Linked DNA regions of Homo sapiens: regions 2, 3 and 4 are each linked to region 1. Evidence: promoter capture Hi-C in human tissues and cell types (Jung and others, 2019). All regions are on one chromosome and are shown on one strand. Each heading gives the region's core, a stretch centred on a gene start or on the middle of the fragment in contact. The rest is flanking DNA. Distances are from core to core; before and after follow the strand shown.

What was found. Contacts are between HindIII fragments. The study calls those that stand out against the background at their distance.
Region 2: a contact is called between a fragment that was not itself captured here and the fragment with the promoter of SDSL in region 1, in 4 of the 25 tissues and cell types used here (H1 embryonic stem cells, bladder, mesendoderm cells and 1 more).
Region 3: a fragment that was not itself captured here is called in contact with the fragment with the promoter of SDSL in region 1 in 1 of the 25 tissues and cell types used here (H1 embryonic stem cells).
Region 4: a fragment that was not itself captured here is called in contact with the fragment with the promoter of SDSL in region 1 in 1 of the 25 tissues and cell types used here (IMR-90 fibroblasts).

The regions. Positions count from the first base shown.
Region 1 is chr12:113,420,815-113,424,460 of GRCh38, reverse strand. It overlaps SDSL (serine dehydratase like), which reads right to left and starts at 2,081. Exons shown (of 8, transcript NM_001304993.2): 1 at 1,984-2,081. The HindIII fragment of the contact is 24,154 bases long and covers 1-3,646 here.
Region 2 is chr12:113,743,405-113,746,910 of GRCh38, reverse strand. LINC01234 (long intergenic non-protein coding RNA 1234) reads left to right here. Exons shown (of 3, transcript NR_110026.1): 3 at 316-2,334. Among named protein-coding and RNA genes, the nearest start is that of LINC01234, 29 kb to the left of the region's middle. The HindIII fragment of the contact is 3,092 bases long and covers 56-3,147 here.
Region 3 is chr12:113,722,687-113,726,254 of GRCh38, reverse strand. No RefSeq gene overlaps it. Among named protein-coding and RNA genes, the nearest start is that of LINC01234, 49 kb to the left of the region's middle. The HindIII fragment of the contact is 5,093 bases long and covers 1-3,568 here.
Region 4 is chr12:113,021,694-113,025,473 of GRCh38, reverse strand. No RefSeq gene overlaps it. Among named protein-coding and RNA genes, the nearest start is that of DTX1, 33 kb to the left of the region's middle. The HindIII fragment of the contact is 4,003 bases long and covers 302-3,780 here.

The DNA of each region.
Region 1 (3,646 bases), core at 832-3,331:
ATAATCAGAAATGTTGAAAACTTCTAAGAGGGAAACACGCATATAGGGAGTCCTAAAGAGAAGAACAAGGGGACCTACTTTGGGTATGGAGGTCAGGAAAGACCTCTTAGAGGAAGTGACCATTAAAACTAAGAACTGAGACAGGGCGCGGTGGCTCATGCCTGTAATCCCAGCACTTTGTGAGGCAGAGGCAGGCGGATCACCTGAGGTCAAGAGTTCAAGACCAGTCTGGCCAACATGGAGAAACCCCGTCTCTACTAAAAATACAAAATTAGCCGGGCATGGTGGCGCATGCCTGTAATCCCAGCTACTCGGGAGGCTGAGGCAGGAGAATTGCTTGAACCTGAGAGGCGAGGTTGCGGTGAGGCGAGGTTGCAGTGAGCCGAGATCGCGCCATTGCACTCCAGCCTAGAGAGTAAGAGGGAAACTCTGTCTCAAAAAAAATAATAAAAAATTAAAAATTAGACCCGAAAAATGAGAACCAACCAACCACACAACAAACTGCAAGAAGAGCGTGTACATGGCAGGACTATTGTGAGGATTCAATGAGCCTGCATGGTAAGGGCACCCATGTTGGGTGTCTGTCCACTTGGAATTGGGTCTCTCTTCCTTTTTGGTGAAATCCCCAGATTTTTCCCCTGGGGATCCTGGGATTGTCAGGATGAACTCCCCCTACTCCATAATCCTTCCGCTTTCTTGTTTTTTTGGTGTTTGTTTTAGAGACAAGGTCTCACTCTGTTGCCTGGGCTGGAGTGCAGTGGCACGATCATGGCTCACTGTAACCTTGAAGTCCCGGGCTCAAGCAATCCTCCCACCTCAGCTTCCTGAGTAGCTGGAACTGTAGACATGCACCACTGTATCCGGCTGATATTTTAATTTTTATAGAGATGCAGTTTTGCTGAGTTGTCCAGGCTGGTCTTGAACTCCTGGCCTCAGGTAAATCTCTTGTCTCTGCCTCTCAAAACACTAGGATAACAGGTGTGAGCCACCTGTTGGCTCACAACAGATGAGTCATTAACTCACCATTGACTCCATTTTATAAACAGTGAACCTGAGGTCCAGAGAGATTAAGTAACTTATCCAAGTTCACACAGTTAGAAACAGCATAGCCAGAATTCACACCAGGCAGTGTCTTTGGCATCTGTGCTATTAACCGCGATGCTATACTTTCTCTAATATACTAGTGTTATCGTTACTATTATGAAAGCTGCATGCATTTAATATTTATTGCCAATTGTCCTTTGGAACCAAATGCTCCTGGCTCAGTTTCCAGGCTTCCCCAGCCCTCTTGGTTATACTGACTCACAAGAGGACAGCAGGCATCAGTTAAATGAAAAAGCCCCAAGTTGCCAACAGCCTTATCAACCCCAGACCCCATCAGGCACCTGAGGTCTGGGACTGAGCTGTCTTGGCCCAGGGACACACACCTCTTGTCCCGTATGGCAGCCACCAGGGCTGAAATGGGGGACCTGGGTCTCCCTGCTGTGGAATAACCCAGGGGAAAGCAGGGGGCTCAGGCTCAGGTCCCAGTCATGCCAACCTTGGCCAAGTCACTTTTGTCACTGGGCCTTACCTGTCACATCTATGAGTTGAGGTAAGGACCACCAGTGCTGTCCACCTCACTTGTCCCCAAAGCCTTTCCCCAGAGGCCACCTTGGTGGCACTCCACAGCCAAATCCCTGGTGCCAGGGCTGGGACACCTCGGGCTGGCCCCTTGGCTGGCAGAATGCCCAACCCTGCCCCTCTGGCAGGCAGAACCCACTCTCGCCCTTCAGGGTCCCCAGCACAACACTTTCTTCTGCAGGGCACCCTGAATTCAATCGACATTCCCAGGAGGGCCTAGAACACGCTCAGGCCCTCTCACTCCCACCTGCTCAGCTTGGACTTTGCCCAAAGCCTCCCAAACTCCTGCAGCCTCTCATCAGCCTCTCATTCACACACACACTGAGCCCCAGGGGCCCCAGCTGGCCCCAGACCCCTTACCTCCCTGCCCAACTATCCCAGACCAGCGTGGCCCCAGCTCCTGCCCTCCAGCCTGCCAGGGAACCAGCTCTTTCCAGGAACCGGCTCTGTCCAGCTTCAGGCAGCTTCCGGCAACCTTGGTCCCTCCTCCTTTGTTAAAGAGAAAGCTCCAGACCCTAAGCCTCCGGGTGAAGACGGAGGAGGAGAGGGGATGAGAGCAACCCTCACCGCTTTCCCGGGCACTGCCTATGACTCATGCACCACCCTGTCTCATTTGACAGATGAGCAAACTGAAACTCAGAAAAGGGAACTTATTTGGCCAAAGCTTCCCAGACAGCAAGGGGCAGAGACAGCCTTTACCCCTGGCCCTGGGCCATCTCTTCCGGGATGCAGGCATCTCCATGTCTTCTCATTTTAGGTCTAGTGATTGTCCCGGATGCTGAACCACTGTTGGGGTCAGCTTAGGTCTGGGATGGGAAAACAAGGACAAGGGAACTTTTTTTTTTTGAGACACAGTTTCATTCTTGTCCCCCAGGCTGGAGTGCAATGGTGCGATCTCGGCTCACTGTTACCTCCGCCTCCTGGATTCAAGCGATTCTCCCACTTCAGCCTCCCAAGTAGCCAGGTTTACAGGCACCCACCACCACGCCAGCTAATTTTTGTATTTTTAGTAGGGACAGGGTTTGACCATGTTGGCCAGGCCAGTCTCGAACTCCTGTCCTCAGGTGATCTGCTTGCCTCTGCCTCCCAAAGTGCTGGGATTACAGGCGTGAGCCACTGCACCTGGCCAAGGAAACAATTATTATAATTATTATTTGTGACATGGGAAAGGTATATTTTTGTCTGAAGCACCTCTCCGTCTCGGATATTTTACACGCAGCATGAGAACCCAAGCAATTATTTGCTACTCAGATGAATGACTGACCATTCATTCATTCATTAAATGTTTATTGGACACCTACTATGTGCCAATCCCTGGAACTTTGGCCTCAAACAAAATAGCATGTCCTCTGCCTTCACAAAGCCCTTAGAGAGGGCCATTAGAGAGCACTTATTAGTGCTATCAGATGTTAGCAGCTGGCAGGGTGGGGCAGGGCTGTGGAACCCAGAGCAGGCACCCCGCCTGGCCCTGGGGGGCTGGGGAGGCTTCCTGGAGGAGGGGAAGTCTGAGTGGAGCCAGGAGTCAGGCACAGGGAGTGCAAAGGTCTGGAAATGAAAAACATGATATATTCCAGGGTCAGGGTAGTATCCAGTGGGGCTGGGAGGGAGAAGGCAGGGGTGGGGAAGCAAGTGGGGTTGAGGCTGGAGATGTGGGCAGAGATCAGAGTCCACAGGGATGCCTGTACCAATCCAGAGTTTGGACCTTACCCAGGGGCACTAGGGAGCCACAGAAGGCTTTAGGTGGGGGGAATGACATGGTCAAATTCATGTCTTGTCTCTGCACCATCTCACTGGGTGAACCTGAGCAGCTCGTGCCCATCTCTGGGCCTCAGTTTCCCTATGTGGAAAGTGGGAACAGGAAGACCTGGCATCACAGATGTTGTGTGTCCTTCTTGGGCTGTTTCTGATCTCCCCAGGTTTGATGATTAACTCCCAGCCACTTGGGGTTAGATGGAGCTGCTTGGCCGTGATCCTTAATGTGGACTCTGGCAAGTTTCTACCCATCCTCGCTTTAGACACACAT
Region 2 (3,506 bases), core at 352-2,851, 320 kb before region 1:
GAAAAGTTAAAATGGCATATATTCAAGATGTCCAATGTGATTATTCGACATATGAATACACTGCAAAATGATTACCACAATAAAATTAATTTTTTTAGTGGCCACTCTGGGCAAGGGAGGTACAGTTCCTGGTTTTGAGGCTGTTGTTTTGTTTTGTTTTTGTTCATGGGAAGCTGCACCCTCCATGCTTGGACACCTGCATTTCTTGGGAAGCTTTTGAACGCTATGACTTCTGGTCTCACCACTACCCCTCCATTTCAGGCTCTCATGGGTTCAGTCCTGGATGCTGTAACAAATTCTTCCCTCTCTTCCCAGGTGCTAGCCAGGATCACTCCCTCCGAAGTCACACCAGAGGGAGGGCTGGAGGGAGAATCAAATGAAAGAGAGAGGGAGAGAAAGGAAGGAAGAGAAGGAGGGAGAATGGAAGGATGTATGGATTTGGATGTATGGGTTCCATTCCTTCTACCCTGGCAAAAGCTTACTCATCCTTCAGTGTCCATCCAAAATGGCATCTCTTCTTGGGCACCATCTCCAGAGTCTCCTGCAAGCAGGTAGCTACATCCCACAAAACAACCACCCATCTGACCATGCAAGTGTGTGGGGGAATGAAGACCAGCCCAGGAATCTGAGATGAATGTTTTGCTTCTTGCTCTGCCACTGACTCACAGGGTACCCCAAGCAAGTCCCTTCACCTCCTCGGTCTCAGTTTCTCCATTTATACTACTAAGGCAGTGGACATGATGGCCTCAAGTCTCAACATTTTTATTCCCTGAAAAGAAACTCTTGGTGCTGAGTGGTCTTCTTCTGCCCTGACATCTCACCTTTCAAACGCTTGTCTCTTCTCACCCCACCCACCACTTAGCATGTGCTCTTGGAGAACACCCAGGACTCAGGGTCTCTGCACACATCATGAGTCCAGCTCAGCATTTGAGGTGGAATCAGAGGAAAGGAAGGAGAGTGGGGAGAATAGTCAGTATTTTGGCAAGCTCATCATACCTTCCCCCTTTGTATAGAAACTTCAAACCATTTCCCTTTGAAGGCACTACCTCCTTCCCCCAGTTATAAATGAGTGAAGGTCTCAAGCCTGGACAACCAAATGCACAGTGATTGGTTCAACTCTGGACCTGTGACTCAAGCCAGACCAAGGGAGTGACATGCAGGGCTTTGCCTGGAACTATTCTGAAAGGGGCACTCTCTTTCTGCTGGGCTACTGATAATATGTGCATCCGTGATAGAAGAGCCTGCCTGATAATAAAGCCAATAAGGGAAGAGCAGAGCCAAGAGATGGTGGGAGAGCAGATGCCTGAAAATATCATTTGAGCCCCTGGGTCCAGCTGCACCTGAAGCCACCACGATCTCCTGGACTTTGCAGTTACTTGAGTTCATAAATACCCTTTGGCATTAAGCCAGATTGAGTCTTAATGCATATAGAAATAAGAGAAATGAGAAAAGAAATTGAAAAGAGAGACAGCAGAGAACTGATTCTCTACTAGAGCCTCCAGAAGGAATCAACTCTGCCAACACCTTGATTTTGGACTTGTGGCCTTCAGAACAGTGAAATGATAAACATCTGTTATTTTAAGGTACCTAGTGTGTAACATTCCGTCATGACAGCCCTAGGAAATGAATACAGCGAGGAAAATCCTACCAGCACAAAGGCATGGAGGTGCCAGGATGTCTCCTCTGCGTGAAGAGTAGATGTAGATGAGGCTGGAATTATCTATCCTAGCTGCCCAGACCCATGTGCCTTTGTTTTATGTAGTTACAGCACCTATGATACATATTTGTTACCATGTATGTCACTATGAACCTCCTCTGGAGGACGGAGAAGTCAAATACCTTAATTATTCCAACACAAGCTTGCGTGAACAGATAATCATCACTACGAGTATATTGTGTGCCTGCTAAGCACCACACCTGAGATAAGCATTTGCTGTGGTTTGAATGTCCCCTCCAAAGCTCATGCTAAAATTTAATTGCCATTGCAACAGTGTTGCAAGGTGAGAACTTTAAGAGATGATCAGGTCATGAGAACTCTGCCCTCGTGAATGGATTAATACCCTTATCGCAGTAGTGGACCCCCCTTTTCTCTTGCTGTCTGTCTCTCATGTTAGCTTGTGCTTCCTCCTTTCACCATGGGATAACACAGCAAGAAGCCCCTCACCAGATGCTGGCACCTTGCTATTGGACTTCCGGCCTCCAGAACTGAGAAATACATGTCTTTTCCTTATAAATTACCCAGTCTGTGGTATTCTGTTATAGCGGCAGAAAATGGACTAAGACGGCATTTTGCATACATTATCTGTCTTATTAAAAATAATGTTTTTGCCCAGGAACATAGATTCAAGTTGCCCTGAATATACATTATCTCCCTACATTATCTCTTTTAATCCTCACCTATTAGGTAGATAAACTGCTATTATCCCCATTTTGCAGGTGAAACCTCAAGCTCCCAAAGAACTGCAGCATCGAGGAAAGTAAAACCAATAGCTAGCATGTTCAGTAGTCCCCTTTACCCATGGTACAATACAGTACGCTAAGATATTCTGAGAAAGTGAGAGGCCGCATTCACGTATCTTTTATCGCAGTATATTGTTACAATTGTTGTATTTTATTCGTTATTGTTGTTAGTCTCTTATTGTGCCTAATTTATAAATTAAGCTTTACCACAGGCATGTGTGTATAGGAAAAAACAGTACGGATGCTCCTCAACTCACAATAGGGTTATGTCCTGATAAACCCTTCGTTCAGTTGAAAAGATCTTTAAGTTGAAAATGCATTTAATACCTCTAACCTACCAAACATCAGAGCTTAGCCTAGCATACCTTAAACATCCTCAAAACACTTACACTAGCCTACAGTTGAAAAAAAATCGTCTAACACAAAACCTATTTTCTAACAAAGCACTGAATATCTCATCTCTTAATTTTAATTTTTTTTTTTCTGAGTAACAGGCTGCTCTGTTACTCAGGCTGGAGTGCAGTGGCATGATCATAGCTCACTGCAACCCTGAACTCCTGGGCTCAGGCCATCCTCCCACCTCAGCCTCCTGAGTAGCTAGGATACAAGTGCGTGCCACCACACCTGGCTAATCTTTTAATTTTTATTTTTGTAGAGACGAGGTACTGTTTCCCAGGGTGGTCTTGAACTCCTGGCCTCAAGTGATCCTCCCACCTTGGCCTCCCAAAGTGCTGGGATTACAGGCGTGAACCACTGTGCCCAGCTTCTTCTTATATATTGAATACTGTACTTAAAGTAAAAAATTGAATGGTTGTATGGGTACTGTAAGTATGTTTTCTGCTGAATGCATATCACTCTCACACCATTGTAAAGTCAGAAAATTATAAGTCTAACCATCATATGTTGGGGACCATCTGTGTATTACTATCCATGGTTTTAAGCATCCACTAAAAGTCTTGAAATGTATCCCCCTCAGGTCAGGGGACACTGCTGTAATAATAAAAACAGCTTGCACTTCCACAAGATTCAGACGTGCCAGATAGTGG
Region 3 (3,568 bases), core at 974-3,473, 300 kb before region 1:
TTGGACTTCAGCCTACAGGGCCACGCTTCACTGCTTCTCCCATTTCACTGGCCAAAGCAAGTCACACGGCCATGCCTCATGTGGAGGGGGTGGGGAGGGCAATACCACCATGTGGTCACCACACACAGTCCCCATGCAGATTCACAGGGAGGAGAAGAGGCTGCTTGTGGCTTGTGTACATGAGTGAAACCTTGAGAGATGGCAGGCTGGGGTGAGGAGTCATGGGTATGGGTAATAGGGTTAGGGATCAGCCTACAGCTAGGATCAGGGTTCAGTCTATGACTAGAATAGGGCTTTAGTCTGGGATTAGGGTCAGGGCTCAGTCTGTACCAGGGTTAGGGCTCAGTCTGGAGCAAGGATCAGGCTTCAGTGTGTGACTCGGGTCAGGACTCAATCTTTGACCGGAGTTGGGGCTTAGTCTGGGATTAGGGTCAAGAGTCATGCTGGGACTAAGATTAGGGCTCACATTGTAACTGGGATACTCTGTGATTGTGCTCAAGACTCAGGCTAAAACAATGGTCAGGGATCAGTCTATGACTTGGGATCAGGGCTCAGTCTGTGACTGGGATCAGGGTTCACTCTGTGACTGGGATCAGGGCTCAGTCTGTGCTTGGGATTAGGACTCAGTCTGTAACTGAGATCAGGGCTTAGTCTGGAGCAAGAGTCAGGGCTTACTCTGGGTCCAGAATGAGGGTCCAGCTCTCCACCAGCATGAGGATCCCCTATGACCCATCAGTACCTCCATACTAGACTGTTGTAAGGTTGGAGCCTCACACCCAGCACCACTGACCTGCAGCATCAACCTCAGCCCCACACCTCAGAGCCCAGGAGCCCTGCCTCACTGACATGACATGCGTGTCCCAAAGTGGAGCCTTCCCCGATCCCTTGCCCAGCAGTGTCAGGTCAGCCCAGTGTGGCCCAGTGCCGCCGTGGGCACCGTGGGCCCCTCGTCCCCGCCTGCCCTCCACGCGCCTCCCTCCTGTCTCCTCCCTCTGCCACCAGCTGCCGGCTCCGTCTGCTCAGTCTCTCTCCCTCTCCCCGCTCTGCCTTAGAGACAGCTATAAGTCTCCCGTGAAATATATACAGTGTAAATATATAAAAAGCTTGTGCCTGCCTGCTGCTTATGTATTCATGAAATAGTAAATAAATTTTATGGGATAATTTGAAGGCTGCCAGGAAGCCGGGAGATGAAAACGAAGGCCTAATGAGATGGAGTATCGGGGCGGCACACGCGCAATCGATCGGCGGCTGCCTGGCCCGAGCTGGGACGAGCCCATCTCCCGTGGCCCGGGGCCTCGCTGATGAGACACTTCGGAGGGGCTTCCGGGGGCCATAAACCACGGGTGGCTGCGGTGGGGGCGGGGGAGGCCTGAGCTCTGGAAGCGGTGATGGTGCTGACAGCCACCTGCTGGGAGGCAGGGGGCGGAGTTCTTTCTCTAGCTCTGCCAAGGACCTGCTGTGTGACCTTGAGCCAGTCATGCTCCCTCTGTGTGCCTCGGTTTCTCCACATGCGTGATGAGGGGCTTGAGCTAGAAGGTCCCTGGGCTGGGGCCTGTGGCTGTGACAGTCTTCTGGTAGCCCCCTGGCCCTCCCCTTCCTGACACTTATTGCAGTGTGTAACGATATGTTGATTTCATGCTTATTGGATGAGTATCTGTCTCTCCACTAAACCTCAGCTCTATTTGGGCAGGGTCTAGGTCTCTTTTGCATACTGTTTTTTGTACCCCTCCTGTCTGCCACATAGGAGGGTCCCAATAGATATTTATGGGTTGGACCAAGTGCCATGGCTCACACCTGTCATCCCAGCACTTTGGGAGGCTTAGGAGGGTGGATAGTTTCAGGCCTGCCTGGGCAACATGGCAAAACCCCATCTCTACTAAAAATAAAAAAAAAATAGCCAGGTGTGGTGGTGCATGCCTGTAGTCCCAACTACTCGGGAGGCTGAGCGGGGAGGGTGGGGAGGCAGAGGTTGCAGTGAGCCGAGATTGTGCCACTGCACTCCAGCCTGGGTGAGAGAGTGAGACCCTGTCTCAAAAAAAAAAAAAAAAAAATTATGGGTTGGATGGATAATGGAATGAATGAATGAGTGAGGGAGTGAAAAATTCAGAACAGATCCAATTCCATCCACTCCACCATGCCACCGTGTGGTGCAAGCCACCATCATCTCCCGCTCGGACTACTGCAGTAGCTCCTCTCTGGTCTCTGTCACCACCCTGGCCCCCTACAGTCCACCTCCCCACAACCCCCAGAGGAATCCTGTTAGACAAATAAATCAGTGCCTCCTGTGCTCAATATCCTCCCATGGCTCCCATCTCCCTCAGAGAAACAGCCGAAGTCTTCTCCATGTCAGACAAGGCCTACATGATCTGCTGCCAGCCCCTCTGGCCACCCCAACCCCTGCTGCGCACTCCTCCCTCCCTCTACCCCAGCCCCTGGCTGCCCACCGCAGGGCCTTTGCACTGGCTGTTTGCTTCTGCCTGCATTTCTTTCCCTGTTATATCCCCATAGCAAACTTCCTCACCCTTTTCAAGTCGTTGCTAAAAACATGTTCTCTCTATGAGGCTACCCTGGCCACCTTACCTAAAAATGCACCCAACCTTCCCCTGGTACTCCCTGACCCCTGTCCTGCTGTAACCACCCCCTGCCCACTACCTTCTGAAATAGTATAGTATCTACTTATTGTTTGTTTGCTCTCAGCCTTTCACCCATGAGAAGGTGAGCTTCTTAAGGGCAGAGTGTTTGTCGGGTTTGTTCATCACAGGGTCCCCAGCACCTAGAACATTGGCTGGCCCACAGTAGATGCTCGGGCAATAGTGATTGGAGGAATAAATGAATGAATGAATATCTAAAGGACCCTCCAAGGCTGATCTCATTTTTTTTTTCTTAGAGACAGGGTCTCACTCTGTCACCCGGGCTGGAGTGCAATGGTGCAATCATAGCTCACTGCAGACTCCACCTCCTGGGCTCAAGTGATCCTCATGCCTCAGCCTCTAAAAGCACTGAGATTATAGGCATGAGCCACTGTGCCTGGCCTTAACTTAATTTAAAAACAAACAAACAAACAAACTGGCCATGGGCAGTGGCTTATGCCTGTAATCCCAAGCTTTGGGAGCCCAAGGTAGGAGGATCATTTGAGGCCAGGAGTTTGAGATCAGACTGGGCAACAGAGGGAGACCCATTTCTATGAAAACATTTAAAAAATTAGCCTGACATAGTGACCCTCACCTCAAGTCATTGCTGATTTTTTTTTTTTTTTTAGGGTCTTGCTCTGTCACCCAGGCTGGAGCACAGTGATGCAATCATAGCTCACTGTAGTCTTGAACTTCTGAAGCTCAAGTGATCCTCCTGCCTCAGCTTGCCAAATAGCTGGGACCACTAAGTGCGCTGGAGTGCGCTGGTGTAATCATAGCTCACTGAAGCCTCGAATTCCTCGGCTTGAGCAAACCTCCTGCCTCAGCTGGGACCACAGGCATGAGCCACTGCCCCCGGCCCCATATTAATAATATTCAGCTGGCTGGGTGTGGTGGCTCATGCCTGTAATCCCAGCACTTTGGGAGGCTGCGTTGGG
Region 4 (3,780 bases), core at 1,054-3,553, 400 kb after region 1:
CCAATCCTTATAATTCTTATCTTACTGTATTAGCTTGCTGGGGCTGCCATAACAAAATACCACACACTGGGTGGCTTAAACAACAGAAATTTATTTTCTCAAAGTTCTGGAAGCTGGAAGTCCAAGGTCAAGGTGCCAGCAGGGTTGGTTTTTCCTGAGGCCTCTCTCCTTGGCTTGCAGATGGCCACCTTCTTCCTGCATCCTCACATAGTTGTCCTGTGCATGTGTACCCCTGGCATCTCTTCCTTTTCTTATAAGGACACTGGTCCTATTGTACTGATGTCATGACCTCCCCTTTCTCATGACCTCCTTTATCATCACTACTTAATGACCTTGTAAACCTTAATCACCTTAATTGCTGTAATCTTAATTATCTCTTTAAAGGCCCTATCTCCAAAAAATAATCACTTTCTAAAGTACTGGGTTGGGCAGGGGGTGGGCAGGTGCGGTGGCTCATGCCTGTAATCTCAGCACTTTGGGAGGCAGGCGGATCACCTGAGGCCAGGAGTTCAAGACGAGCCTGGCCAACATGGTGAAACCCTGTCTCTCCTGAAAATACAAAAATTAACCGGGCCTGGTGGTGCATGCCTGTAGTCCCAGCTGCTTTGGAGGCTGAGGCAGGAGAATTGTGTGAACCCAGGAGGTTGCTGTGAGCTGAGATCGTGCCACTGCACTCCAACCTGGGCGACAGAGCAAGACTTTGTCTCAAAAAAAAAAAAAAGTACTGGGGGTTAGGGCTTTTACATATGAATTTGCGGGGAGGGGACACAATTCAGTTCATAACATTTAACAGAAAGGAAAGCCAGGCTAGTGAGGTGCAGTACTTTGCCCAAGCCCACTCAGTAAGTGACAGAGCTGGGATTTAGATTTGGAGGCCATTTAAGTTTAAATTAATTAAAATTAAATACAATTTAAAATTCATTTTCTCAGGCATGCATCTCATGTGCTCAGTAGCCAATGTGGCTGTTGGGTACGGAGTTGGACACTGTAGATCTGGAACATTCTCATCATTGCAGAAAGTCCTGTTGGACAGCCCTGCTTCAGAGTCTATGCCCGTGGCCTCTATGAGCTCTGCTCTGGGGGTATGAAACTCAGGGAGCTGTTGTGAGGACTAAAGGAACTAATGTCTCCTAGGGGTCCGGTACACACAGACAGTTTGGGAAATGGTAACTGCTTGCGGTATTATTATTAAGCATCAAACAGAGAGGGACTTCTGAATAGCTGGAACAGTGGGGATTATAGACACCATTAAATTTCACCTTGTAAGACTCAACTTGGTCATTGCACGCAAAGAAACACATCACAGCTAGGCGTGTTTTGGATGAACAAACCTAGTCAAATATCTGGCGTTGTTTTTCTCAGTTAGCACTTTGGGACAGGAGGCAAATAGCATTATTATAGTTTACTGGATATTCCAAGTTCCTTCTGTTGACCAATCTCCGTGGATGTCAGTGACTAAATACATGAATACAAGGTCGTTCTGCAGTGGGCAGGTCTATACAAACCTACCCTCAAAAGTTAGAAGAAGCTGAGAGGCCAAAGAAAGAGGCTGGTAAATCAAGTTTCTTAGGAAGAAATACTTAACAGGGTCTTACAAACTGAAGCCATGTCTGTGTCTTGTGCAGTGGGAAGACCAGATGGTGGATCCCCACGCTATTATGACTGCCCAGTGGGTTCTTGCTGCCCACTGCCTAGATAGAGCCAACTTATCAAGACAGGGGAATTGCAATAAAGAGTTTAATACTCATAGAGGCAGTTAAATGGGAGACTGGAGTTTTATTGTTAACTTAAATCAGCTTCCCTGAATATTCAGAGGCTAGGGGTTTTAGGCCAGGCACGGTGGCTCATGCCTGTAATCCCAGCACTTTGGGAGGCCGAGGTGGGTGGATCATGAGGTCAGGAGTTCGAGACCAGCCTGATCAACATGGTGAAACCCCATCTCTACTAAAAAATAAAAATAAAAAAATTAGCCAGGCGTGGTGGCACGTGCCTGTAATCCCAGCTACTCAGGAGGCTGAGGCAGGAGAATCGCTTGAACTAGGGAGGCGGAGGTTGCAGTGAGCTGAGATTGCACCACTGCACTCCAGCCTGGGCAACAGAGTGAGATTCTGTCTCCAAAAAAAAAAAAAAAAGATAGTTTGGAAGATGAAGGGTAGGGAATGAGGAATGTTGATTGGTGGGTTTGGGGCTGAAATCATAGGGAGTTGAAGATGTCTTCTTGTACCACATCAGTTCCTGGGTGGGGGCCATAAGGCCAGATGAGCCAGTTTACTGGTCTGGGTGGGACCAACTGATCCATCAGAATTCAGTGGCTGAAAAATATCTCTAACACCAGTCCTAGGTCTTACAATAGTAACATTACCCACAGGAGCAACTGGGGAGGTTAGGAATCTTGTGGCCTCTGTCTGCGTGACTCCTGAGCTATAATTTCTAATCTTGTGGTTAATGTGTTGGTTTTACAGAGGTGGTTTGAGCTCTAAGCAAGGAGGGGGTTTCTTTTGGGGAAGGAGTCTTATCACCTTTGTTTTAAAGCTAAACTCCAAACTAAATTCCTCCCCAAATTTAGTTCAGCCTATTCCCAGGAGTGAAGAAGGGAAGCTTGGAGGTTAAAGGCAAGATGGAGTTGGTTAGGTCAGATCTCTTTCACCGTCATAATTTTCTCAGTGTTAGAATTTTTGCAAAGGCAGTTTCACTATTACTCCCAGACCCAGGACTTATATACCATAAGGAAAGGATGATTCAGAAGGGATGCTTAGGGCAATTGATGTAGAAAACATCAAGGTGGTTTGACCTGGGAGCAAGATTTATAGCAAGTACCTGCTCTTCCACAAGGAACAATAGATAAACTGGAAATTTTAGGGGACTTCTTGGAACTGGGGTTAATCAGAAGCCCATATGGTGGATTAGCGTCTGAGATGGAGCTGCGTTGGCTTCCACAAAGACGTATTTCATTTCTACTCTCAAGAAACTTAAAACCTAGAGCAAATGCACCATGGCATATGAGATAGTTTGGATGTGTGTTCCCACCCAAATCTCACATTGAAATGTAATCTCCAATGTTGGAGGTCGGGCCTGGTGGGCAGTGATTGGATCATGGAGGTGGATTTCCCATGAATGGTTTGGCACCATTCCCCTTGGTACTGTTCTCACAATAGTGCATGAGTTCTCATGAGATCTGGTTCTTTAAAAGTGTGTAGCACCTCCTGCCCTCATTCTCTTGCTCCTGCTTTCGCCATGTGATTTGTCTGTTCACCCTTTGCCTTCCACCATAATTGGAAGCTTCCTGAGGCCTCCCCAGAAGCAGATGTTGCCATGCTTCCTGTACAGCTTGCAGAACTGTGAGCCAATTAAGCATCTTTTCTTTATAAACTGCCCAGTCTCAAGTATTTATTTATAGCAATGTGAGAATGGACCAAAACACCATATCATACAATACTTTAATACTTTAGCAACCAGCAAAGTTATACAACTGTCAGTTCTTGTTCTCATTCTAGCTCTATCTTAGCATGGGTTACCTGCAGACTGATGGACTCTCCTTCAATAACCATTGAGATGTCAGTTGATTTATTGGTAGATCCAAAACTCTCTTCCTACAGACCAACATAGTCTTTGGAAATAGTCATGGGAATAGGCTTTGGAAATATGTCCAAAGCCAAGATGCTAGATTTCCCTAGAGTGCACATCACTCAGAAGATTAAGAAAGACTTAGAGGAGGTGGTGTTTGCCATGATGCTTGAGATATGGGAGTGTGTCTGCTAAGATACGGGGTAAAGATATTCC